2 separate regions of the Homo sapiens genome follow, and region 2 is linked to region 1. The links are contacts of gene promoters, found by promoter capture Hi-C in human tissues and cell types (Jung and others, 2019). All regions are on one chromosome and are shown on one strand. The core of a region is centred on a gene start or on the middle of the fragment in contact, and the rest is flanking DNA. Distances in the headings are between cores, read along the strand shown. Region 1 holds the start of PDC (phosducin). Region 2 overlaps PLA2G4A (phospholipase A2 group IVA).

What was found. The method cuts DNA at HindIII sites, captures the fragments that hold promoters and counts their contacts. A contact is called where the count stands out against the background at its distance.
Region 2: a contact is called between a fragment that was not itself captured here and the fragment with the promoter of PDC in region 1, in 1 of the 25 tissues and cell types used here (dorsolateral prefrontal cortex).

What each region holds. Positions count from the first base shown.
Region 1 is chr1:186,457,551-186,462,869 of GRCh38, forward strand. PDC (phosducin) reads right to left here and starts at 3,564. Exons shown (of 4, transcript NM_002597.5): 1 at 3,509-3,564. The region is part of intron 3 of PDC-AS1 (PDC antisense RNA 1); the gene reads left to right. The HindIII fragment of the contact is 6,595 bases long and covers 1-5,319 here.
Region 2 is chr1:186,908,419-186,914,400 of GRCh38, forward strand. It overlaps PLA2G4A (phospholipase A2 group IVA), which reads left to right. Exons shown (of 18, transcript NM_024420.3): 7 at 2,830-2,971. Among named protein-coding and RNA genes, the nearest start is that of PLA2G4A, 82 kb to the left of the region's middle. The HindIII fragment of the contact is 6,671 bases long and covers 1,317-5,982 here.

The sequences.
Region 1 (5,319 bases), core at 2,314-4,813:
TTGTAATGCTTTATATATCTTTTCTGAATTTCAGTTCTCTAATGGAGTAAGACAATACTTAGGATTTTTGTTGCCACCTTCAGTTATGTTAGTTGTTAATTTTGGGATAGGTCAATTTTTACATTTGGTGGTATCATAATAAGAGTTTTCTTTAAAATTAAATTTTGGGACGCATGAGTGGAATACAGGACACATGGTCCTCAAAATGGCTATAACAAATTAGAAAATTGTTGGCAGTCAGCAAATGTTTGTTTTCTTTCTTTTAAATACAAAACATTCATCCTGATGCTGTTGAAAATTTTCCTTACTTTATGCCTGACTTCCCCCCACTCCCAGTATCTAGATAAAGTTCATAAGAACTTTGATAGAAAAACTATGATAGAAATTTTGATATAAGACACTATAGAACTGATGTAATATTTTCTGTTTCTACCCTACTCAAATAGTTTTGCTTTTTCAACAAATGGGACTGGGCAGGGGAGTTGTAGGGAGCCTTTTAAACAATTAGTATGTCAGGAATGCATAGCAAATATCAATTTCCTATCTGTTATCCTGTATCATCAGTAAAAAAAAATTTACTCTGGAAATATGAGCTTTAAAAGTCATAACTGAATTCTTGTTCCTAGTGAAAAGACATCCACCTATCCAAGTTTGCTATTATGACATACAGATATTCTTTTTTTTTTTTTTTTTTTTTTTTTAGAAAGAAGGTTGAGACAAGAGCACAACTTTTAATACAAAATAAAAAGAATTAAGTGGCATCTGGGACAAAAAATTAGGGAACTAAAATAATTCAAAGGAAAGAGAAAAAGTCTTGGTCATGTTTGCCAAGCTTTGAATATTAGACCTTGCTTTTTTCCCAGAGATTGTCAGTGCACGCTGGTTGTGCAATATCAACCAGGATTAGGCAGGTGTGGGAGCCACAGAAGCCACTCCACCACACTTTTAAGTCATTTCATTAGAGTCGCCTCAGAAGTCCTGGTGAGACAATCCTAGGAGTCCTCTTTGGCTGTCTTGCTTGATATTCTCAAGCAAGTCCATTCTGCTAGACGCCTGCATCTGGGTACTCCTCCCTTTTTAACTCCAGTCCCCACAGGGTCATTTAAGAAAATGTATGCATGTTTCTGATTCATAACTATATTATGATGATTATTCTTATAAACCCTTTTGACGTCTAAAAGCCTTAGAGCCACTCAACAGTCCTGTTTGGGCCAGTCTCCTGGAATATGAGAAAAGATGAAGAATGGGAGTGTTATGGAGGGCATACGCCCCTCTGATCATCACCACAAAGAGTGGAGCCCTTCATGGTCCCAGCTGAAAGCCTGGAGAGGCTGCGCGCGGTGGCTCACGCCTGTAATCCCAACGCTTTGAGAGGCCAAGGCAGGTGGATCACTTGAGCGCAGGAATTCAAGACCAGCCTGGGCAACATGGCAAAACCCCATCTCTACAAAAAGTACAAAAATTAACCGGGCGTGGTGGTGGGTGCCTGTAGTCCCAGATACTCCGGAGGCTGACGCAGGAGAATCGCTTGAACCTGGGAGGCGCAGGTTGCAGTGAGCCGACATCTCGCCACTGCACTCCAGCCTGGGGGACAGAATGAGACTCCAACTCAAAAAAAGAAAAAAAGAAAAAGAAAGCCTGGGGATATTTACCAGGACCCTTCCTCCTTTTCAGGCCCTAGATTCTAAGATCCTGCTTTGCAGATCTGAAGTGGGACCCAGGAATCTTTAACAAGCTCTAAGCCTGCCGAGTGCCTGCGATTGCAGGCACGCGCCGCCACGCCTGACTGGTTTTGGTGGAGACGGGGTTTCGCTGTGTTGGCCGGGTCTCCAGCCCCTAACCGCGAGTGATCCGCCAGCCTTGGCCTCCCGAGGTGCCGGGATTGCAGACATACAGATATTCTTTTACTTGTTCTGGAGAAAATAGAATTTTAGAAATTCATAACAGCCATCTTTTTTAAAGTATCTGTTTATCTTGTAAATATACATATTCCTGTACATATTGTTTGAATTCCATTACAGACATTATTATGAATGGTTCATATATATTTTGATAATGACTTATATAATATCAAATCCACTTATAAACATAGTATTTGGGCAGAAATTGTCATGATGAATTAGATGATCTCTAAAGTTTTTTCTAGCTTTAATATGAGGTGATTCTAAGTAGCAGGTACAATGGACAATATGTGTGTGTGTGTATATATATATATATATATATATATATATTTAAAATGGACTCTATAGTTAGAAGCTATTTTTGCAGTTAATAAAAATACTCCATTGCAAATCAATTACTGCACTCATTTTCATGATGCAAACTGTAAGGTTTATTAGTAATAATAATAACCTCCATGGAAACAAAATAGAAAAAAAAAAACCAATTGAAAGAAAATTTTCACTGAATTTAAGAAATATCAACAAACTCTGTGTTCTTTTCTTTTAAAAACATTATTTCTGTTTCATTAAATTTCTAAAGTAACCTTTCAAAACAAACATTATTTCTACTTTAAAAATTAAAAACCACCAACAAACCACCGCCACAACAACATACTACTAAGGAAAAGCCTCAAAACATGCCTTAGCGCCGGATGAATACAGCAGTCCTCACTTATCTGAGGTTTTTCTTTCTGTGATTACAGTTACCCTTGGTCAACCTTGGTCCAAAAATATTAGATGAAAAATTCCAGAGATAAACAATTTGCAAGTTTTAGATTTGCAGTGTACTGAGTAGCTTGATGAAATCTCACACTATCCTGCTCTCTCTGGCCTGGAACATGAAACATCTCTTTGTATACCATATCCACACCATATGCATTACTGTCTTGGTTATCAGATTGACTATTGCAGTGCTTGTGTTCAAGTAACCCTTATTTACTTAATAAGGTCCCAAAGCGCAAGTGTTGTGATGGTAGCATATTGTTATAAAGGTTCTATTTTATTATTAGTGATTATGGTTAACCTCTGACTGTGTCTAATTTATAAATTAAACTTTATCACAGGTATGTATGTTCAGGAAAACAACATAGTATACACACAAGGTTCAGTTTTATCTATGGTTTTAGGCATCCAGTGGGGGTCCTGGAACATATCCCCCTTGGATAAGGGGCAACTACCGCACTCCTTTTCCAACTTGGGAGCCAGATCTTCAAACATAAAGTGCAAGGACTCATCATTTATTCTCTTTAGTTCTCCCTTCACTCAAAGGAAATTTAAAATTGCAAAATGAGTTCTCCATTCATGGTCTTATTTTAACAGTCTAGAATATCAGGCTCAAAATTGCGTGTTTACTCTGAATCTGTATTAGTGAAGATGACTGGTGGAAATCACTGAAAGAGAGAAGGATACGCTGTATTTAATTGTCTTTATAGTAGATAATTCAAAACCTTATGTACTTTGAACTATTTTACATTAACACAATAATACATAAACAGTGAATCACCATTCTTTCCCCTAAGGTAAAATTTTTAAAATTATATTATCAAAAGGACTACTTGTGGACTCACAGTTTGGATCTCTGTGCCTGGTGTCCTTGTTGAGTGGGTGAGAATCCCTGTCTACTGAACTCGTCTTGAACTTCAATAGGTTTAAGCTCAGATTTAAAATCTCCAGATATTGATGACCCTTGCAGAAATAGCTCTGAACAAGTAATAGGATTGACAGAATTAGCAAGGCCAGTTCATTAATAATAAGGCAAAACCAAACAAAGAGTAGTCAGTTTATATTTTACAGAACACATTGAATAGATGAGAGACAGAGGTCATTATTAGTACTATTTATCGCAATAACATGAGTTGTATTCATTAGTCCCATAATCATCTACTGAGCACCTACTTTGTGTGAAACAAGCAGTAGCTAGGCACTAGGGTACAAAGACAAATAAACCCTATTTCCTATATCGTGAGGCTTGCAGTCTAGTGGGGGAGACAGGTAAGTAAAAAGATAATCACAATGAAGTGCTATGATTACTACAACATTGGGAGGAATAAGAGAGATACTATGATTTTCATCTTCTCTTACTACAGGCTTTTAATACAATTTTTTCAGATGGGCTGTCTTTACAGATCTACTTGCTTTCTGGATTCTAGTTTTATTGGCATTTTCTCCTTTTCACTTCTCCTTATTGTTTCTGGTTTTTACCATTAAAAATTCCTTTCCTGCTGTTTTTTAATGGAGTTTTGAGATGTAGGGGAAGTAGATGCATGTGTTTAATCTTCCATCTTTTCCTAACATCTTTCATCCTCACAGCCAAATTCTCATCTAACTTTGCCAAAGTAGGAGATTTAATTTACTCTAAGCTTAAAACTGGAAATTTTTAATTAGCAAGAGGACAAAATTTTTAATATTAATGGCAATTAAAATGAACACATTTAGATTTTTAAATTATAAGGTTTAGTCATATGTAGCTTCACCCAGAAACTTTAAGTGGATCTTAATGCAATTTAAACAGTGATAGTGTCTAAATAAATTTTAATAGTTATGTTTTATTATACTAAATTAATTTGTCATTTATTTACTCTTTGTTAGTAAGAGGGAAACCTGTCACATTTCAGAACTTTGTTTGCTTATATATTTTTTATTGTAGAATTTGATTTCAAGAATAGAGAAGAGTACATAAAATTTACAATATTTAAGAGAGTCACAACCATAAATATTTTCAAAGAGATTCTTCCAGAAATCAAAGTATTTTCTAAATTAACTTTCATTTTCATCCTTAAATCAAATTTTTACCTCCCATTTAGCAGGTTTCATGTTCCAGTTTGTGTGCTATACATATGCTTTTCAACAGAGTTTCTCAGGGCAATTCACTTTCAGTTTTTATGAACTGAGTGTTTTCTCTCTAGCTAAAGAATCTAGAATGTAGTCAGGTGCAATACAAATGTAACTTAAAAGATGCCTTCTGATGGCAAATGTGAAGAAATTTAATATTTCAGTTTGATGATAAAAAATGTCATAGTGGTTTTAACATTCAAAAAATATGTTTTAAGTTACTGTCAAATATAGCTTGGTACTCATATGTTCAAATATGTAATATAGGCACAAGCATAGAGACTTAACGGTAAAAAAAAAATTACTATAGCAATTCCTATCCTACCCCCACCTTCCCAACACAGATATTTCCATAATTTGCTTTTTATTTTGTGCTATCTCTGGCACCTGTTCACTGGAGGGATTTGGGGTCATTACGGACATCACACACTTGCCTACAATTTGGACAAGCATATCTGATCTAATTGCTTCAATTATGAATTGAGTAATTTTTGTAGATCATGAAAACTTGTCAAGAGTCAAAGCCCAAAAGGTCATTATTTCACAC
Region 2 (5,982 bases), core at 3,402-5,901, 450 kb after region 1:
TCTACTACTTTCTAATTATGTTAGTGATTGATAGATTTCTAATCACTTATTTACTCACTGGTAAAATAAGAAAAGAATACTTTCTAAGCATATCACTGTGATTAAATGAGGTGTTCTTTCTAAAGAGTACATATACAATAGGAAATTTTCATACACGTATACCACATGTTAATAATGGTGCTGCTTGTAATAGTTTACAAAACATTGGAAATTATTTCAATATTTATGGATAAATAGATTATAGTATACTAATATAATGAAATACTACATAATAGTAAAAGTGTTTGAATTACTTTTATTTATATAAGCACAGATGATTCTCAAAAAAAAGTGTTCACTGGAAAAAATAATTTGCACTAATTACTAAAAACCTGCAAAATGAAAACCTTATTTAGGGACATAAATATATATTGTAAAATTATAAACATATATGGAATGATGAAGATTAAATTTAAGTAGTGATTACCTTTAAGGAACAGAAAAGGAAATAAAGTTGAGGAGGTGTCATAGAGGCAACTGTACAGGTAAGATTTTAATTTCTTTTCTTTTCTTTTTTTTTTTTTTTTTTTTTTTGAGACGGAGTCTTGCCCTGTCACCCAGGCTGGAGTGCAGTGGCGCGATCTCGGCTCACTGCAAGCTCTGCCTCCCAGGTTCACGCCATTCTCCTGCCTCAGCCTCCCGAGTAGCTGGGACTACAGGCGCCAGCCACCACGCCCGGCTAATTTTTTTCTATTTTTAGTAGAGACGGGGTTTCACCGTGTTAGCTAGGATGGTCTCGATTTCCTGACCTCGTGATCCGCCTGCCTCGGCCTCCCAAAGTGCTGGGATTACAGGCATGAGCCACCGCGCCCGGCCTTTAATTTCTTATAGTGTTTAGAAGATACCTAACCTAATATGTCATTATAAAGAATAGTAATAGAAAAGAGTGTAGCCCAAGATTAGACTTAAAAGTGTTCATTTGGCTGGGCGTGGTGGCTCATGCCTGTAATCCCAGCACTTTGGGAGGCTGAAGTGGGTTGATTACCCGAGGTCAGGAGTTCCAGACCAGGTTGACCAACATGGAGAAACCCTGTCTCTACTAAAAATACAAAATTAGCCAGGTGTATTGGTGCGTGCCTGTAATCCCAGCTACTTGGGAGGCCGAGGCAGGAGAATCGCTGGAACCCAGGAGGCGGAGGTTGTGGTGAGCTGAGATTGTGCCATTGCACTCCAGCCTGGGCAACAGGAGCGAAACTCCGTCTCAAAAAAAAAAAAAAAAAAAAAGTTAACTCACTGTCTTACTCTTTTCCCCCGTTACATGATTTCCAAAATCATATTTAATAATTGTATAACCCAATACTTTTATATACAGTTCAACAACCGTTTCTTTAAATGATCTTTAAAAAGTTTTTGGTTACTTCCCTTAAGATAGGTTTCCAGAAGTAGAATTATTAGGCCAAAAGGAATCTATGTTCTAATTATTTTTGAACATTCCATATTGCTAATATGCCAAATTTGAATACTGCTTAATTGCTTTTTAACAAACTTATATTCCCAAAATGGATGCATGAGAATATTAGTGTTATTTTTCCTTTCTAGGACTAGAAAATAAGTATTTAAAATATTTTAATATCAATTATTTTAATAACAGTATCATTTAAATTCACTAGTGAAATTAAACTTTTTTGTTATTAATTCTGCTTTCTCTTTTGTGAGGTACCTATATTTGTCCTTTGGGAAGTAGTAATTAAACTATTATTTGTAATGGTCAAATATAGCCATAAAGAACATAGCTCAGAGGCTTGGTCTCTTTCTGTATTTTACAAGGAAAAAATATACTGAACTAACAGAAATGAGATTTAAAATTGATTTACAATTAAGGTAAGGATTTTTATGAATGGTAAAGAGACAAATATTTTATTGGTGATAATTCTTGACTTCTGCTTTTTGGATTTATTCACACTCCAACATAGGCTGACAGATTTTTAAAAAGTATTTTTAAATTCAGTAGTTGGTATTTAGACTTCAGTATTAAGATATGTCTTATATGTTGCATGGTGAAAGTACATCACATGTTTACTCTGTGATCCTAACCTCTCAGGGCATTAGTTTTCTAATTTATAAAGCTGCAATATATAATAATATATTGTATAATAATATGTAGTGATACTCCCATCGTTCTTGCAATGATTCATACGTAATACCTAATGTGACTTCTGGCATAGTGTAGAGAAATTGCTACTGCCTTCATTAGCAAGATAAAGTATATATAATTTAAGGGTTCTAAAGTCCTCTAGTGGTAAACTCATTTATGGTTATCTCAAGTTCTGTGATTAGAAGTTCCTTTCTTTGTTAGAGGGGGGCATCCATTAGACAAGGCAATTAATTAAGACAATATTTCTGCAAGTATGTTCCTCAGAATGCTGGCTCTTTGGGATGTTAGAAAGTAATTATGATGGTGGAATAGTGAAGGGTGGAGAGATAAGGGAAGGAATTCTTGGTCAAGTAAGTTTGGGATATCCTGTGCCAAACAAATATAAACAGGGTTCTTTACTGAAGCCCTTCCAAGTCTTTGTTATAATATTCAACTTATCAGAGGCTGTTTGTTTGCTCGTTTATTTTATCTAAAGCATTGGAAAGTCCTTTTTCTCTGAAAACATGCTGTGGAAAATGCTGCTTTAAGATAGCCATCATTTTATCCTCTTATTTTAGGTCCCTTCTTAGGAAATGGCTTGAGGGAAGCAGTCAGCATATATCAGTGTAGCTCCTAGGGACCTGGAAAAGCTACCTGGATGGAAAACCAGACCACTGGGAGCACTGGCTCATGACTTTATCTGTTTGGTATTACAGCTCATGCCCAGACCTACGATTTAGTATGGCTCTGTGTGATCAGGAGAAGACTTTCAGACAACAGAGAAAAGAACACATAAGGGAGAGCATGAAGAAACTCTTGGGTCCAAAGAATAGTGAAGGATTGCATTCTGCACGTGATGTGAGTTGGAAATTTTTCAAGTGTTACTATACTTTAATAATAATTTAGCTTGGACAATTTCCCCAATAATTTTACCCAAATATGGCAATATTGAGATTGAGCATTATTCCTTTAGTTTTTTAAGGTAAGGTAAGTGATTTGTAAATGAAAACTCTTTGAGGAAGGTCATCACAAATGGTGCCCTAGCTGGTAATATTTATCAGCTATAGTTTTTAGTTTTATTTTTACTTTATATTTTAGAGCAGTGTTAAGTTCACAATAAAATTGAGCCAAAAGCACAGAGAGTTCCAATATGCTTCTTCTCCCTGCACAACCTCCCAAGTTTAGTCAGGTTCTCCAGAGAAACAGAACCAAAAGATATACACAGTAGATATGAGGAGATTTATTATGAAGTTTGGCTCACATGATTATGGAGGCCAAGCAGTCCCACGATATGCTTTCTGCAAGCTGAAGAACCAGGAAAGCCCGTGGTGCAATTTAGTCCAAGACAAAGGTGCACCAGTGGAGTAACTCCCAGTCAGAGGCTGGGCAGTTGGAGGGGGAGGTGGGAGTCTTGAAGTCTGAAAGTAGGAGAACCCGGAGCAACAATGTCTAAAGGCAGGAGAAAAGGGATGTCTCAGTTCAAGGACAGAGAGACAATTGCCCACCTTCCACCTTTCTGTTCTCCTCAGGCCCTCCAAGGATGGAATGATGTGCGCACCCATTGGCAAGGGTGGGTCTTTACTCAGTGTGCTGATTCACTTGTTTTTCTTTGGAAAACACCCTCATTAGCACCCCCAGAAAGAATGTTTTTCTAGTGATCTGAGTATCCTTTAGTCTGGTCAGGCTAATAAAGAAAATTAACCATTATACTCCCTAACTATCAACATCCCACACCAGAGTGGTACATTTGTTACAATCAGTGAACCCACATTGACACATCATTATCATCCAAGTCCATAGTTTACGCTAGGCTCACTGTTGGTGGTCTACATTTTATGGGGTTTGGACAAATGTGTAATGACATGCATCCACCATTATAGTATCATACACAGTAGTTCACTGTCCTAGAAATCCTCTGTGCTCCACCTATCATCTCTCCTCCCTACCCCTGCACCACTGATACTTTTACTGTCTCCATAGCTTTGCCTTTTGTTAGTTTGCCTAATGTAGTATAGTTGGAATCATACAGTATGTAGCCTTTCCAGATAGGCTTCTTTCACTTAGTAATACGAATATAAGTTTCCTCCATGTCTTTTCATGGTTTGGATAGCACATTTCATTTTAGTACTAAATAATATTCCATTGTCTGGATGTACCACATTTTATTTACTTATTCATATATATGTATATTTATATATACATATATATACATATATATGTATATATATACATAAGTATATATATATGTATACTTATATATATATGTATATATATATATACATATATATGTATCTAATATAAGTGTATGTATGTATTTGTATATAATATATATATAAGGCATACTTACGCATAAAGGAGTGTTGATTTTATCAATAGGAAAAGTTTAGCCTCAAATATAAAAGGATTAAAATTACTTAATTTAAATGTAGGCTAAAATTAAACTGTGGAAATCATCATTATCGAACAAGAAGAAAATGCCATAAATCTTGTTAATGATAATGGAATTAATAAATGCAGGCAAATGTGATGGGGAGAAAAAAGAAAATATTCCAAATTCTTTATATTTTGTAGTAGAGTTAAACAATATTTAAAATTGACCAAATTGAAGGATCGTACTTTCAATATTTGTTTATAATATATTTGTATTCTATATTTCTCTATAATTAGGATTATAAAAATCATTAAGTTGAAGAAATGATTTATAATCCTAATTATGGAGAAATACTGGAATATAAATATAAACAAATATTGAAAGTAAAATCCTTCAATTATAGTTTTTTTCTTTCCTTAAATTCCAGTAAAATGTAATATCCTTTATTACTCAATCATATATCTTAAAATCTACTTTTTGGCTATCTATCCATTCATTTATTTCATCTATGTATCCATCAATCACCTATCTAATCTGCTTATCTATTTCTCTCTTTATATATCTGTCCATCTTTCTATCTGAAATCTACAAAGATTAATTGCCACAATGATGCTCATCAAATGATAATGAAGTTTCTTGTTAGTGACGTATCAGGTAATTATTTACTTATTTATTTAGTTGAGCTTTCTTGTTAATTGAATATGTCAAATGAATATAATTTATTTTCATAAAAATAATATTTTAAATACATAAGTAAACATATATGTGCATAGTCTTGTACACTCTTGAATTATTTCTCGTAGGAATTAATTTCATTAAGTTTTTCATAAAATAATTTCATAAATAAATTAATTTCTTGGAATTCATTCTTGTAGGAATTTGAGATTATTGCAAATTAAGGGCAGGATACAGTTGGAAATGAGACATAAATTCTGAGTAAGGGAGCCAAATGATCACCCCTGTCCCACATGTGGTTGCAGATTTGCAAATATGTTTTAGGTGGGGGTAGGGTTCAAAAGCCAACCTACTGATGCTATAGTGACTTGTGTTGTTATGGGAGCAGACTCTAAGATGAGATGCTGCTTAAGGGGAATTTTTGCTTAAAGGAAACTAAGGAAACCTTCATTAAAGTTTATTTTAAAAAGAGAGGCTTCTCTTCAATCCTGCATCTTTTGTTTTGTTTTGTTTTTTTGTGTTTTTTTTTTGAGACAGGGTTTTGCTTTGTTGCCCAGGCAGGAGTGCAGTAGCACAATCATAGCTCACTGCATCATCAAACTCCTGGGCTTAAGTGATCCTCTTGCCTCAGTCTCCTAAGTAGCCAGGACTATGCGTGCATGCCACTACACCCAGAAAATTTATATATATATGTTTTTTTCTTTCTAGAGATGGGGATCTTGCTATATTGCCCAGGTTGGTCTCAAACTCCTGAGCTCAAGCAACACTTCCACCTCTGCCTGCCAAAGTGCTAGTGTAGCAGGACAAGCCACAGACAAAAACC